Linked DNA regions of Homo sapiens: all the other regions are linked to region 3. The links are contacts of gene promoters, found by promoter capture Hi-C in human tissues and cell types (Jung and others, 2019). All regions are on one chromosome and are shown on one strand. The core of a region is centred on a gene start or on the middle of the fragment in contact, and the rest is flanking DNA. Distances in the headings are between cores, read along the strand shown.

The links. The method cuts DNA at HindIII sites, captures the fragments that hold promoters and counts their contacts. A contact is called where the count stands out against the background at its distance.
Region 1: a contact is called between a fragment that was not itself captured here and the fragment with the promoter of DCTN3 in region 3, in 1 of the 25 tissues and cell types used here (stomach).
Region 2: a fragment that was not itself captured here is called in contact with the fragment with the promoter of DCTN3 in region 3 in 1 of the 25 tissues and cell types used here (lymphoblastoid cells).

Annotation. Positions count from the first base shown.
Region 1 is chr9:35,707,398-35,711,764 of GRCh38, forward strand. TLN1 (talin 1) reads right to left here. Exons shown (of 57, transcript NM_006289.4): 29 at 4,198-4,367; 30 at 3,858-3,997; 31 at 3,592-3,685; 32 at 3,400-3,489; 33 at 3,164-3,286; 34 at 944-1,087; 35 at 334-495; 36 at 1-91. MIR6852 (microRNA 6852) reads right to left here and starts at 3,344; the gene lies at 3,279-3,344. RefSeq lists an enhancer at 3,384-4,367. The HindIII fragment of the contact is 8,507 bases long and covers 1-4,367 here.
Region 2 is chr9:35,677,432-35,681,742 of GRCh38, forward strand. It overlaps CA9 (carbonic anhydrase 9), which reads left to right. Exons shown (of 11, transcript NM_001216.3): 6 at 359-425; 7 at 1,754-1,911; 8 at 2,423-2,567; 9 at 2,682-2,708; 10 at 3,322-3,403; 11 at 3,534-3,728. The coding sequence ends at 3,594. Among named protein-coding and RNA genes, the nearest start is that of CA9, 5.7 kb to the left of the region's middle. The HindIII fragment of the contact is 4,289 bases long and covers 906-4,311 here.
Region 3 is chr9:34,618,231-34,622,483 of GRCh38, forward strand. It overlaps DCTN3 (dynactin subunit 3), which reads right to left and starts at 2,265. Exons shown (of 7, transcript NM_007234.5): 1 at 2,139-2,265; 2 at 446-530. The coding sequence starts at 2,234. ARID3C (AT-rich interaction domain 3C) reads right to left here. Exons shown (of 8, transcript NM_001017363.4): 6 at 4,117-4,253; 7 at 3,790-3,879; 8 at 2,819-3,328. The coding sequence ends at 3,228. The HindIII fragment of the contact is 3,867 bases long and covers 1-2,334 here.

The sequences.
Region 1 (4,367 bases), core at 468-2,967, 1.1 Mb after region 3:
AGGCACTCAGATTGTCCACAGCCTCCAGCAGAGGGGCTGTTGCTGCTCGGCACTGGGCACGGTTCTCCTCTGTGAAGGCCCCATCTAGCGCCTAGAAGTGACAGAGAGGCTCTCAGGACTTGGGATGCAGTCATAGGGGGTATAGGAAGTGAAGTCCAGGTCTCCTTCCTGGGACTTACAGGATTTGGGGAGAGGCTAGGTGGTCAGTCTGAATAGAAAGAGCTTGGGCTCAGGCAGAGGGGATTTGGTAGAAGGCTTCAGAGAATAACTGGGGGACTCGGGGGAGAAGATAGGACAGGTCAGGGAGAGGCTGGGAATTCAAGCAATGGGAACCTTGATGGTCTTGACAAGATTAGCTGTGCTGTTGGCCACCTCCTTGGCTGACTGTACAAACTGGCGCTTGGCAGTAGGATTGGTGGTACGGGCAGAAGCCAGGCGACAGCTGTTACACAGTGCAGAGGTGTGTTTAGCCACAATGGTGGCTGCAGAGAGCACCTGAGGAGACACATGGAAGAGCCACGATGAGGGCAGGAAGGAGGTGTACATACCCAAGGAGGAGCCATTTTAGGGTCAGGGGATGGAGAGCAATACCCTGAGGAGTCAAAACAGGAATAACAGAGTCACCTGAAAAGTCAAGATCTAGGAGACAGAGATACCCAAAGATGAACTGGGCATGGGAGAGGAAAGACATACTAATGGAGAAACCATAAGAGGGCATGTGGGAGAGTAAGCTCGAACATCTACAGAGAAGTTGTGAATTTAGCAGTAACTGATAAATGATGAGACCCATGGCAGAAAAAGACAGTTACCCAAAAAGAAGCTGTGTGTGCAAGGTCAGAGATGGGTCCCTGCCCTCTTTCCCACATGCCTCACCTCCCTCTACTCCACGGGGTCGGTCTGCCCTTTCCCAGACTCGCCTGTGGTCCCTGTTCCCTTGAGTTACCTGGGCCTGGGTACAGCCAGGCTCTCCCAAACTCTGGCAGGCCATCTGAATTGCCTGGTTTGCACGGGCAAACTGTGTGGGCTCCACTAGCCCTTGCTGTCCAGCTTGGCTATTGGGGTCAGAGACACCAACCAGATATGCAGCCTGGGAAGAGAAAAGGGGGTGGGGGTGAGGAATAAAGATTGCAGGTGGGAAATGAATAGTGATAGTAGGGACAAAAGAGAGCAGAGGTAAGTTTAGAGAATAGGGCTTATTTTCCAGAGTTCTCCATGAGTGGAGATACATTAGCAAACAATGGTTACACTATAAAGAAGAAAAAAAATACTCTCCTGTTTTCATTAAGTATATTCAAGCATTTCAGAAGATTAAAAAAGTTAATAAAAAGGAAAACTACATAGCAAGGGTTTTTATCCAATCTCTATTTAGATATGTTTGTGTATGTTGGGTCTTAGAGTGAAAAGTATGGCTTACTGTAAGTAGCAGTAAAACGTTTGAGAGCCATATATAAATACACACCTTTGTGCACACAAGCAAAGCCTCTTTTAAAGACAGTTCAAAACTGATGAAGGTTATTAGGCTAATTCACATTTATAGCACCTCCATGCGTCAGATATTTGGAAAGGAAGGGAGGGGTTAAAAAGCCATTTTTATGATGGAAAGAACATCCTAATGTTTGATTCATACTTCAATCAATACACAGTAGCTTTGCTTTTTCCTCTATGCATTTTCAGAAGGTGGGGGGAAAAAAACCAAACAAACAACAAAGAGGTTTAGTGAAACCCTGTCTCTACTAAAAATACAAAAATCAGACGGGTGTGGTGGCAGGCGCCTGTAGTCCCAGCTACTCGGGAGGCTGAGGTAGGAGAATCACTTGAACCCGGGAGGCGGAGGTTGCAGTGAGCCGAGATTATGCCTCTGCACTCCAGCCTGGCGACAGAGCGAGACTCCGTCTCAAAAAACAAACAAACAAAAAACCAAAAAAACAAAAAAACAAAATCAAACAAGCCATCTAGAGCAAGGCGCCTATTCTGACAGGGCACAGGGAGGTGGTGGAGATGGAGGGCTAGGATGGTAGGCTTTCAGGGAAAATAGTCTGAAGTGAACTCTTATGATGCCAGTTTGTTTTAAGGATTCATATACTAAAGCAAAATACTTTACAGCTAATAGGTAGTTTTATACTTGATAATGTGGGAAAAGGCAAAGTTAAGTGATAACTCAAGTAACTGGAAATTTTGTCACTAGTACTATTTTAAGAAAGTAGTGATTGGCCGGGCGCGGTGGCTCACGCCTGTAATCCCAGCACTTTGGGAGGTCGAGACGGGCGGATCACGAGGTCAGGAGATCGAGACCATCCTGGCTAACACGGTGAAACCCCGTCTCTACTAAAAATACAAAAATTAGCCGGGCATGGTGGCGCGCGCCTGTAGTCCCAGCTACACGGGAGGCTGAGGCAGGAGAATGGCGTGAACCCGGGAGGCGGAGCTTGCAGTGAGTCTAGATCGCGCCACTGCACTCCAGCCTGGGCGACAGAGCGAAACTCGGTCTCAAAAAAAAAAAAAAAAAAAAAAAAAAAAGAAAGTAGTGATTACAGGCCAGGCGCGGTGGCTCACGCCTGTAATTCCAGCACTTTGGGAGGCCGAGGCAGGTGGATCACGAGTCAGGATATCGAGACCATCCTGGCTAACATGGTGAAACCCTGTCTTTACTAAAAAAAAAAAAAAAAATACAAAAAATTAGCCGGGTGTGGTGGTGAGCGCCTGTAGTCCCAGCTACTTGGAAGGCTGAGGCAGGAGACTAGCGTGAACCCGGGAGGCGGAGCTTGCAGTGAGCCTAGATCACGCCATTGCACTTCAGCCTGGGCGACAGAGCGAAACGCTGTCTCAAAAAAAAAAAAAAAAAAAAAGAAAGTAGTAATAACATGAAAAAATAGTTTGTATAAGCTAATTAGTATATTTTGAGAAAGCCAGCTGGAAAAGGCCTCACGGTTGGGCAGTGTAATCCTAACCAAAGTACCAGGGTTCAGGAATTACAGAAATCAGAACTGCTGGTGTTCAGTAATTGCTGACAAGTGTCTCCACTTCAGGAGGAGGACAACCCAGATTCCATAGAGTTGGCTTTGCAAACATAAACTTCTTGATTTATCTACAGGTATGTCAGGCTGAGAGAAAATGGGGTAAAGAAAGTAGGGGCCATTCAAAGAACCCATCTCAGGAAAATAACCTGTGCAGCTGCCTCGGTGAAGCCACAAAGTGCCTTTGAGGCTGTGGAAATGGCATCTCCAAACTCTGGCAGGTTTCCGTTCTTGGCATTTTGGGAGATGCCAGTCATGGCCTCGCCCAGCACCTGAGGAACAGAGGACATCAGGGGAGTCAGAGCATGTCCTCAGAACCCCAGGGCAGCATCTGGTTAGCTCCATCCTACTGCCCTCTCTCCTCCGAGTTCCTGGCTGTGCTGACCTTTGAGTTCTCCATTACACTGTCCAGGCAACCAAAGTAGGACATGTCATTGATGGGCTGGACTGGGTTCTCCAGGAGTTCCCGGACCGTCTGTGTAGGGGGAGGGCAAAGTGAGATCCAAGACACCTCCCTCAGGCCCAAAACCAGAACACTTCCCTCAACCTCAATGCCATCAGCCTGCCATGTGTCTACCTCCAATTCCCGCAGGGCGTTATCACACTCCTTCTGGCCGGGTGCCTGCTGGGTGCACATAGTGATGAGCTGATTGATGCTGTCAGTTACTGCCCTGGGAGTGACAGAAAGTTGAGTGAAAAGGTGAATAGGTCATCATTCCTGGGTCCTATGTAAGTATTTATCTTTTGCCTATAACCATTCCTAAGCCAAGAAGCTCTCATGAACTGCCTGCTCCCCAGTCTCTCTCACACAGTCCAGGGCTGGGCTTCTCAGCAACTACTTACCTGGCAGCTGCAGCCAGCTGACTCTTGAGGTTAGGGGCAGCAGGGTCCGTGGACAGGGCCTTGGCAGCCAGAAGAAGTTTGCTTGAAGACATGGAGATGCCCTTCAAGTTGGACACAACTTGGGCTCGGTCCTCCTGGCTCTGTTGAAGGTGACAAGGTCAATGCATTGTCCTGTCCTTTCTTATCTGTCTCTAAAAGGGATCTTCTTTCCCAGACACTCAAGTAGTGCTAGAGACTGGGGAGGGAAGGGAGCCAGGAGCAAGTCAGGACTGGTCACTCAACTGCCTCCTATCTAACCCTTAGTGGGAACCATTCAACCAGACCCTCTGCCTCTTCATACCGGAGCCTGGCCTGCCATCTCCACACCAGCTTCCAGGAAGGTGCTGAAGTCCTGTCCAAATCGGCCTGAGGCTCGAGCCAGGTCCTGAGGGGTTCCCCGAGAGGCCTGCACCAGTTCTGTGGCTGCCTGATTCAGCCCAGCAGCAGCTTCATTCAACCGGCTCTGAGCTT
Region 2 (4,311 bases), core at 1,800-4,299, 1.1 Mb after region 3:
TGAGACTGCAAACGTCAGAAGGGCACGGGTCACTGAGAGCCTAGTATCCTAAGTAAAGTGGGCTCTCTCCCTCTCTCTCCAGCTTGTCATTGAAAACCAGTCCACCAAGCTTGTTGGTTCGCACAGCAAGAGTACATAGAGTTTGAAATAATACATAGGATTTTAAGAGGGAGACACTGTCTCTAAAAAAAAAAACAACAGCAACAACAAAAAGCAACAACCATTACAATTTTATGTTCCCTCAGCATTCTCAGAGCTGAGGAATGGGAGAGGTCTATGGGAACCCCCCTTCATGTTCCGGCCTTCAGCCATGGCCCTGGATACATGCACTCATCTGTCTTACAATGTCATCCCCCAGGAGGGCCCGGAAGAAAACAGTGCCTATGAGCAGTTGCTGTCTCGCTTGGAAGAAATCGCTGAGGAAGGTCAGTTTGTTGGTCTGGCCACTAATCTCTGTGGCCTAGTTCATAAAGAATCACCCTTTGGAGCTTCAGGTCTGAGGCTGGAGATGGGCTCCCTCCAGTGCAGGAGGGATTGAAGCATGAGCCAGCGCTCATCTTGATAATAACCATGAAGCTGACAGACACAGTTACCCGCAAACGGCTGCCTACAGATTGAAAACCAAGCAAAAACCGCCGGGCACGGTGGCTCACGCCTGTAATCCCAGCACTTTGGGAGGCCAAGGCAGGTGGATCACGAGGTCAAGAGATCAAGACCATCCTGGCCAACATGGTGAAACCCCATCTCTACTAAAAATACGAAAAAATAGCCAGGCGTGGTGGCGGGTGCCTGTAATCCCAGCTACTCGGGAGGCTGAGGCAGGAGAATGGCATGAACCCGGGAGGCAGAAGTTGCAGTGAGCCGAGATCGTGCCACTGCACTCCAGCCTGGGCAACAGAGCGAGACTCTTGTCTCAAAAAAAAAAAAAAAAAAGAAAACCAAGCAAAAACCAAAATGAGACAAAAAAAACAAGACCAAAAAATGGTGTTTGGAATTGTCAAGGTCAAGTCTGGAGAGCTAAACTTTTTCTGAGAACTGTTTATCTTTAATAAGCATCAAATATTTTAACTTTGTAAATACTTTTGTTGGAAATCGTTCTCTTCTTAGTCACTCTTGGGTCATTTTAAATCTCACTTACTCTACTAGACCTTTTAGGTTTCTGCTAGACTAGGTAGAACTCTGCCTTTGCATTTCTTGTGTCTGTTTTGTATAGTTATCAATATTCATATTTATTTACAAGTTATTCAGATCATTTTTTCTTTTCTTTTCTTTTTTTTTTTTTTTACATCTTTAGTAGAGACAGGGTTTCACCATATTGGCCAGGCTGCTCTCAAACTCCTGACCTTGTGATCCACCAGCCTCGGCCTCCCAAAGTGCTGGGATTCATTTTTTCTTTTTAATTTGCTCTGGGCTTAAACTTGTGGCCCAGCACTTTATGATGGTACACAGAGTTAAGAGTGTAGACTCAGACGGTCTTTCTTCTTTCCTTCTCTTCCTTCCTCCCTTCCCTCCCACCTTCCCTTCTCTCCTTCCTTTCTTTCTTCCTCTCTTGCTTCCTCAGGCCTCTTCCAGTTGCTCCAAAGCCCTGTACTTTTTTTTGAGTTACGTCTTATGGGAAGGGCCTGCACTTAGCGAAGAAGTGGTCTCAGAGTTGAGTTACCTTGGCTTCTGGGAGGTGAAACTGTATCCCTATACCCTGAAGCTTTAAGGGGGTGCAATGTAGATGAGACCCCAACATAGATCCTCTTCACAGGCTCAGAGACTCAGGTCCCAGGACTGGACATATCTGCACTCCTGCCCTCTGACTTCAGCCGCTACTTCCAATATGAGGGGTCTCTGACTACACCGCCCTGTGCCCAGGGTGTCATCTGGACTGTGTTTAACCAGACAGTGATGCTGAGTGCTAAGCAGGTGGGCCTGGGGTGTGTGTGGACACAGTGGGTGCGGGGGAAAGAGGATGTAAGATGAGATGAGAAACAGGAGAAGAAAGAAATCAAGGCTGGGCTCTGTGGCTTACGCCTATAATCCCACCACGTTGGGAGGCTGAGGTGGGAGAATGGTTTGAGCCCAGGAGTTCAAGACAAGGCGGGGCAACATAGTGTGACCCCATCTCTACCAAAAAAACCCCAACAAAACCAAAAATAGCCGGGCATGGTGGTATGCGCCTAGTCCCAGCTACTCAAGGAGGCTGAGGTGGGAAGATCGCTTGATTCCAGGAGTTTGAGACTGCAGTGAGCTATGATCCCACCACTGCCTACCATCTTTAGGATACATTTATTTATTTATAAAAGAAATCAAGAGGCTGGATGGGGAATACAGGAGCTGGAGGGTGGAGCCCTGAGGTGCTGGTTGTGAGCTGGCCTGGGACCCTTGTTTCCTGTCATGCCATGAACCCACCCACACTGTCCACTGACCTCCCTAGCTCCACACCCTCTCTGACACCCTGTGGGGACCTGGTGACTCTCGGCTACAGCTGAACTTCCGAGCGACGCAGCCTTTGAATGGGCGAGTGATTGAGGCCTCCTTCCCTGCTGGAGTGGACAGCAGTCCTCGGGCTGCTGAGCCAGGTACAGCTTTGTCTGGTTTCCCCCCAGCCAGTAGTCCCTTATCCTCCCATGTGTGTGCCAGTGTCTGTCATTGGTGGTCACAGCCCGCCTCTCACATCTCCTTTTTCTCTCCAGTCCAGCTGAATTCCTGCCTGGCTGCTGGTGAGTCTGCCCCTCCTCTTGGTCCTGATGCCAGGAGACTCCTCAGCACCATTCAGCCCCAGGGCTGCTCAGGACCGCCTCTGCTCCCTCTCCTTTTCTGCAGAACAGACCCCAACCCCAATATTAGAGAGGCAGATCATGGTGGGGATTCCCCCATTGTCCCCAGAGGCTAATTGATTAGAATGAAGCTTGAGAAATCTCCCAGCATCCCTCTCGCAAAACAATCCCCCCCCTTTTTTTAAAGATAGGGTCTCACTCTGTTGCCCAGGCTGGGGTGTTGTGGCACGATCATAGCTCACTGCAGCCTCGAACTCCTAGGCTCAGGCAATCCTTTCACCTTAGCTTCTCAAAGCACTGGGACTGTAGGCATGAGCCACTGTGCCTGGCCCCAAACGGCCCTTTTACTTGGCTTTTAGGAAGCAAAAACGGTGCTTATCTTACCCCTTCTCGTGTATCCACCCTCATCCCTTGGCTGGCCTCTTCTGGAGACTGAGGCACTAGGGGCTGCCTGAGAACTCGGGGCAGGGGTGGTGGAGTGCACTGAGGCAGGTGTTGAGGAACTCTGCAGACCCCTCTTCCTTCCCAAAGCAGCCCTCTCTGCTCTCCATCGCAGGTGACATCCTAGCCCTGGTTTTTGGCCTCCTTTTTGCTGTCACCAGCGTCGCGTTCCTTGTGCAGATGAGAAGGCAGCACAGGTATTACACTGACCCTTTCTTCAGGCACAAGCTTCCCCCACCCTTGTGGAGTCACTTCATGCAAAGCGCATGCAAATGAGCTGCTCCTGGGCCAGTTTTCTGATTAGCCTTTCCTGTTGTGTACACACAGAAGGGGAACCAAAGGGGGTGTGAGCTACCGCCCAGCAGAGGTAGCCGAGACTGGAGCCTAGAGGCTGGATCTTGGAGAATGTGAGAAGCCAGCCAGAGGCATCTGAGGGGGAGCCGGTAACTGTCCTGTCCTGCTCATTATGCCACTTCCTTTTAACTGCCAAGAAATTTTTTAAAATAAATATTTATAATAAAATATGTGTTAGTCACCTTTGTTCCCCAAATCAGAAGGATGGTATTTGAATTTCCTATTACTGTTATTAGCACGAATTTAGTGGTAATGCATTTATTCTATTACAGTTCGGAGGTCAGCAGTCAGATGTCAGTAGGGCTTGTTCCTCCTTCCACACATCACTCCAATCTCTTGCTCCCATTGTCACAACTCCTACCTCCACATTTGACCTCCTTGTCTCCTCAAGAACCCTTGGGATTACACTGGGCCTAACTAGATAACCAAGGATAATCATCCCATCTCAAAATCTTAATCACCAAGTTTCTTCCCATGTAAGATAAGAACAATGCACAGGATTAGAACATGGACATCTTTGGAGAAGGGGAATTATTCTGCCTACCACAGATGCTATCAGGAAGAGGACAGAAATGACTGATACTGTTGGGATGGCTGTGTGTGTGTGTGTGTTTGTGTGTGTGTGCAGTGTATGTGTTGAGGGGTAGGGCAGACAGCAGCCCTAGGCTTAACATCACACTCAGGCTTTTGGGTTTTCACCCTGCTCAAGGAAAATGTGTCACTTCTTGCAGTTTTTGCTTCAGGACGTGCT
Region 3 (4,253 bases), core at 1,015-3,514:
TCTCACTGACCTATCCTCACCAAGGGTAGAAGGCCTCTTTTCTCCTAGATGTCACCGAGACAAGCCAGAGCTTTGTCTAATTTCTAGTTACTAAGCAGGTTACTAGTTCTGACATAACCAGGATCTCAGTGTCTAATTTGTTTCCTGCCCCTTAACCTTGCCTGGGAAATCCCATACCCTTTTTACCCTCCTTCACCAAGAGAAGCTTTCAGGTAGAGCTCTTATTTCATAACTTAGGACACTGTCATGGGCTTGAGGTTTAGCCACAAGGTAGAAAAGCACACCACAATTTACCAATTGAATTGGGTGTAGGTAAATGTCCTCATAATCTTTCTATCCCCAAAGGGCTATTCCAGTGACCTAATGAACTGAAGGGCTAGGGCCAGGTACCAGGAAGCTGAGGGGTGGGATGTCGGGCAGGCAGGCACATCATGGAAGCACTTACTCTTTTTGTAGAGAATCTTCACCCTCTCCCTCTTGCTGGAAATGTTCCCCAAAGCCACCTGCACCTTGACCAGGCCGTCAGCCACCTGTAAGGGAAGTGGTGGTTAATTCCAAGATATACTACCTGGCTCAAGGCTTGGAAAAGTTAAAGAACCCTCATTCTCCCAGACTCTCAAACCTGAATCCCAGTAATCTAGGTTGGCCTCCCTTCTCTAATATTAAAGGAGATGCAGCCCCACCTTCCAGGAATCCTTAAAGTGGAGAGAGAGAATCATGTACTCCTTGGGGAGTTTCAAGTCTGATGGGGAAGATAACGAACTATTTTAGAGTCTATGGAATATAGAGTATACACAATATATTTTCTGGTTCCTAAGTCCTGGGTTTGGGCATGAGAAACACAAGCATCCTCATTCAAGCCTTCATGACCTCTAGATTGGCTGGCCTACCTCTAGCCCTATCCCCTCCACATCAAATTTGGTGTGGGAGATGGAAGAGTCCAAACAACTGGGATCCCAATGATGGTGCAATCACTGAATTAGGGAATACAGAAGAGAATCAGGTTAGGGGAGAGAAAGAGTACAGTTAAGGGCATACAGATTGAGTTTGAAATGACTATTGGATATCCAAGTGGAAAAGTCCAGTAGACAACTAGACATAAAAGTCTGGTTCTCAGAACAGAAATCTGGACCAGAGATATACATTTGAGACATATTGACATGTAAATAGTAATTGACACCATGGAAGCGAGTGAGCCTACCTAAAGTTTAGGGGTAGAATGTAAAGAATCCCAATATTAAAGGGTCAAATAGAGGAGGAGACTAAGGAAGTGACTGCACTCACCCAGTTTTTAGGGTAGAGGATGAGGAATGCCAGGGGGGAGGCAAATAACACTGAGAAGCAGCCGTAAGAGGTAGAAGGAAAACCAGGAGGGTCAGCGTCATAGATCCCAAAGGAAGAGAATGTTTGAGAAGTTAGTTCTGAAATGGGAGCACAGTCTGCTAGTGACAACTAATTCCTCATTTAGTGTACAAACAGACATCATTACCTTGGACGCACTTAGCTCCAGGACATGCCTGACACGCCATCAGAAGTTCTTCAATAAAAGATCTTCCCATAGTAGAAAGGGGAGGAGAGGGCACCTGAGCTTCGTAGTTGTCAAAATTCTGTCACTGGTATAAAGCAGTGCTAGTCCACATCTGAATACCCAGTACCCAGTCTCTTCCCTTCCTAATCCTGGTCCTTTCAGACCTCACTTCTCACCCTTTGGCGTTTTCCTTATCCACCTCTGCTCTGCCTCCCCAGGGGTCCCATGGACCTCTTCCTGCACAATTCATTTAGCAATTAATTATGCAGGGCTCTATGACGGGCCTTCCTATCGTGGACTTCAGCTCTTATTGAAACTCTCATTAGTCAGCTTCTCGTGTCAGGTCTCCCCAACTATAGCTCGCGAGGGCAAGGGCGGAGTCTCAGCTACAGTAGGTACGGAGCCCACTCTCAGGCTGGCTTAACCACCCGCAGAGCCCCCTATGACAGTGGACCCCGATGGTCCAATCAGCTCTGGGAGGTCCCGGACCTTTGTTATTTCAAAGGCCGGGCTGCGGAGAACAGGACTGGAGCGGTTGCATCCCGAGGGCCAGGACAGTGGACCGCTCTTGCTCTGCTCCAGAAAGGGACTACCGGACCAGACTACTCACCTTCCGTGAGCCGCGCGCCCCGCCCGGCCCGTACACCCAGCGCTCCAGCTCTTCCACTCGGGCCTGTAGCCGCTGCAAGTCAGTCAGACCCGCCATCGCTACTACCGACCCACCTCGGCCAGGAAACAGCCAGAGGGCGGGACGTCAGTCCAAATAAGAAGGCTAGCCAATCCGAGTGCACGAGCGGCCCTTTATGCAGGAAGTGACGCCATGATTCAGCCCTTCAGTGCCGGAAGTTACTCCTCGGAGCTGTCAAAAGCTGATTACCTTGGCAACGGCTCTGTCCCATCCCTCCCCTGGCTTCCAGTGCCTGGTTGTCAAGATAACCTTTGCTTTTCGGGTACCAAAGAGCTTTCCCCACGCCATTCCCTGAGTTTGCACGTGTTCCAGGATAGGTCCATTCCCATAGATACATCATTAGGAGGCTCCGTGAGTTACCATAAACTTTTGGAGTCTTCTAAGGTTCAGTTGATTAAGTAACTTGCCCAAGGCCACCCAGCACTATAGGGACAGAAACAGGACTTGAACTCAGGCTGTCTGATTCAAGAGACGGAGCTCTTCTATTCTCACGAAACTTTGCTATTCTGCCTTAACCTCTGAAAGCCCCTGGCCCAAGGCAGCCTATGTTCCACATCATTCCTCCCCACCTCCCATACCCAAACAAGAAAGGAGGCATCAGAGAGGGAGGGACCGCAGCTTTATTGTCTAGATGTGACCTGAGGGATGTCTCTTTCACAGTACCCCAACCCAACCTTTCACTTGGCTCCTGAAGAGAAGCAGGGCTGACTCAAAAGGGTAGGGTCCTAGAGATGACATTGACAGAGGGAACACATGAGGAGATGATGGGGTTACTGGAGGAAGAACCCTTTGGTAGGTGCTGCTGGAATTGGCCAGGGAGGAGGTGCCCTCCCTTTACAATGAGGTAGGTGTAACATCAAAAGAAACTTTGGTTTTAAGTCCACATGGCATGGGAGGTGTCGTCCCCTCCCAGGGCTGGGTCCCAGAGTGGGCAGCCAGAAAGAATCAAAGCAGGGGGTCTCCTCCCCCCTCAGCAATGGGGCTGGGACTCTTAGTTTCAAGTAGGACCTCTCAGGGCAAGATGCTGGAAGGGGGCCCTGTGGAGGGTGGGGGTGCAGGGTTGGTTGGACCCTGGGAAGCTGGCACAGGCTGGCGGCGGGCAAAGAGGACACCTGGCAAAGGGGTGAGGAGATGGTAGAGGGCAAAAACAAGCAGGAGGGGGTAGGGTATGGAAACAGAAGAGGGGAACAAAAGTAAGTGTTCTGGTTGCTAGAACACTACACACGTACCCCTGCCACAAACCAATGAGGACAAGCTCCTTGGGTCAGTAAGAGACTCCATTGCTAATGTAGATACCTCAAACAGGTAAACAAGGAATATTTATGCTGATACATAGGCCCAAGACAAGGCAGACATCCCCTGGTACTCATGCCAGAGAGGTCATGCCTTGGATCCCATGCCATGTAGACACCCCCTTTAACCCATGCCAGTCTAGCAATCCCCTGAACTCCATGTTACTCATGCAAGTTTAGATATCCCTGAACTTCATGCTAGTAGAGGAAGTCTAAAATCCCCATGCCAGCCTAAATACCCCTGACCCCATGCCAGTGTAGACAGCCTGCAGTACCCATACCAGTGTAGACCACCCCGTTGATCTCTAGGGCCATGTTGATACTGCTGATGCCACTGCCTGCCAGATTAAGAGGCCCATCCAGCCGCTCTTCTGTCCAGGAGGGGGCAGAGGAATCACATTTTGGAGAATCAGACTTCTGACTTATTAATAGAATTTCCCCCCTCCATCCCCGTAGACAGCCCCCATTCCACTTCAGCCCCACACCTATACTCACACAGTTGTCTACAGAGGAATCTGTCTGCCCCGTCTCTAACACCTATCAGGTGATGGGTCAATCCTCCCTCAGTGTACAGTCCCGAAGCCCCCTCACAACAAGCCCCTCCTCACCCCTCAGGGGAACCTTGCCACGGGGCAGGAAACTGGGGGGCATGCAAGGTCGAGGTGGGTCCATAGGCCCCATCAGCACAGCTCTCTTCTCTGGGGGCTCCTCTGGTGCCAATTTCTCCCGTGTAGGTCCCAGTGCC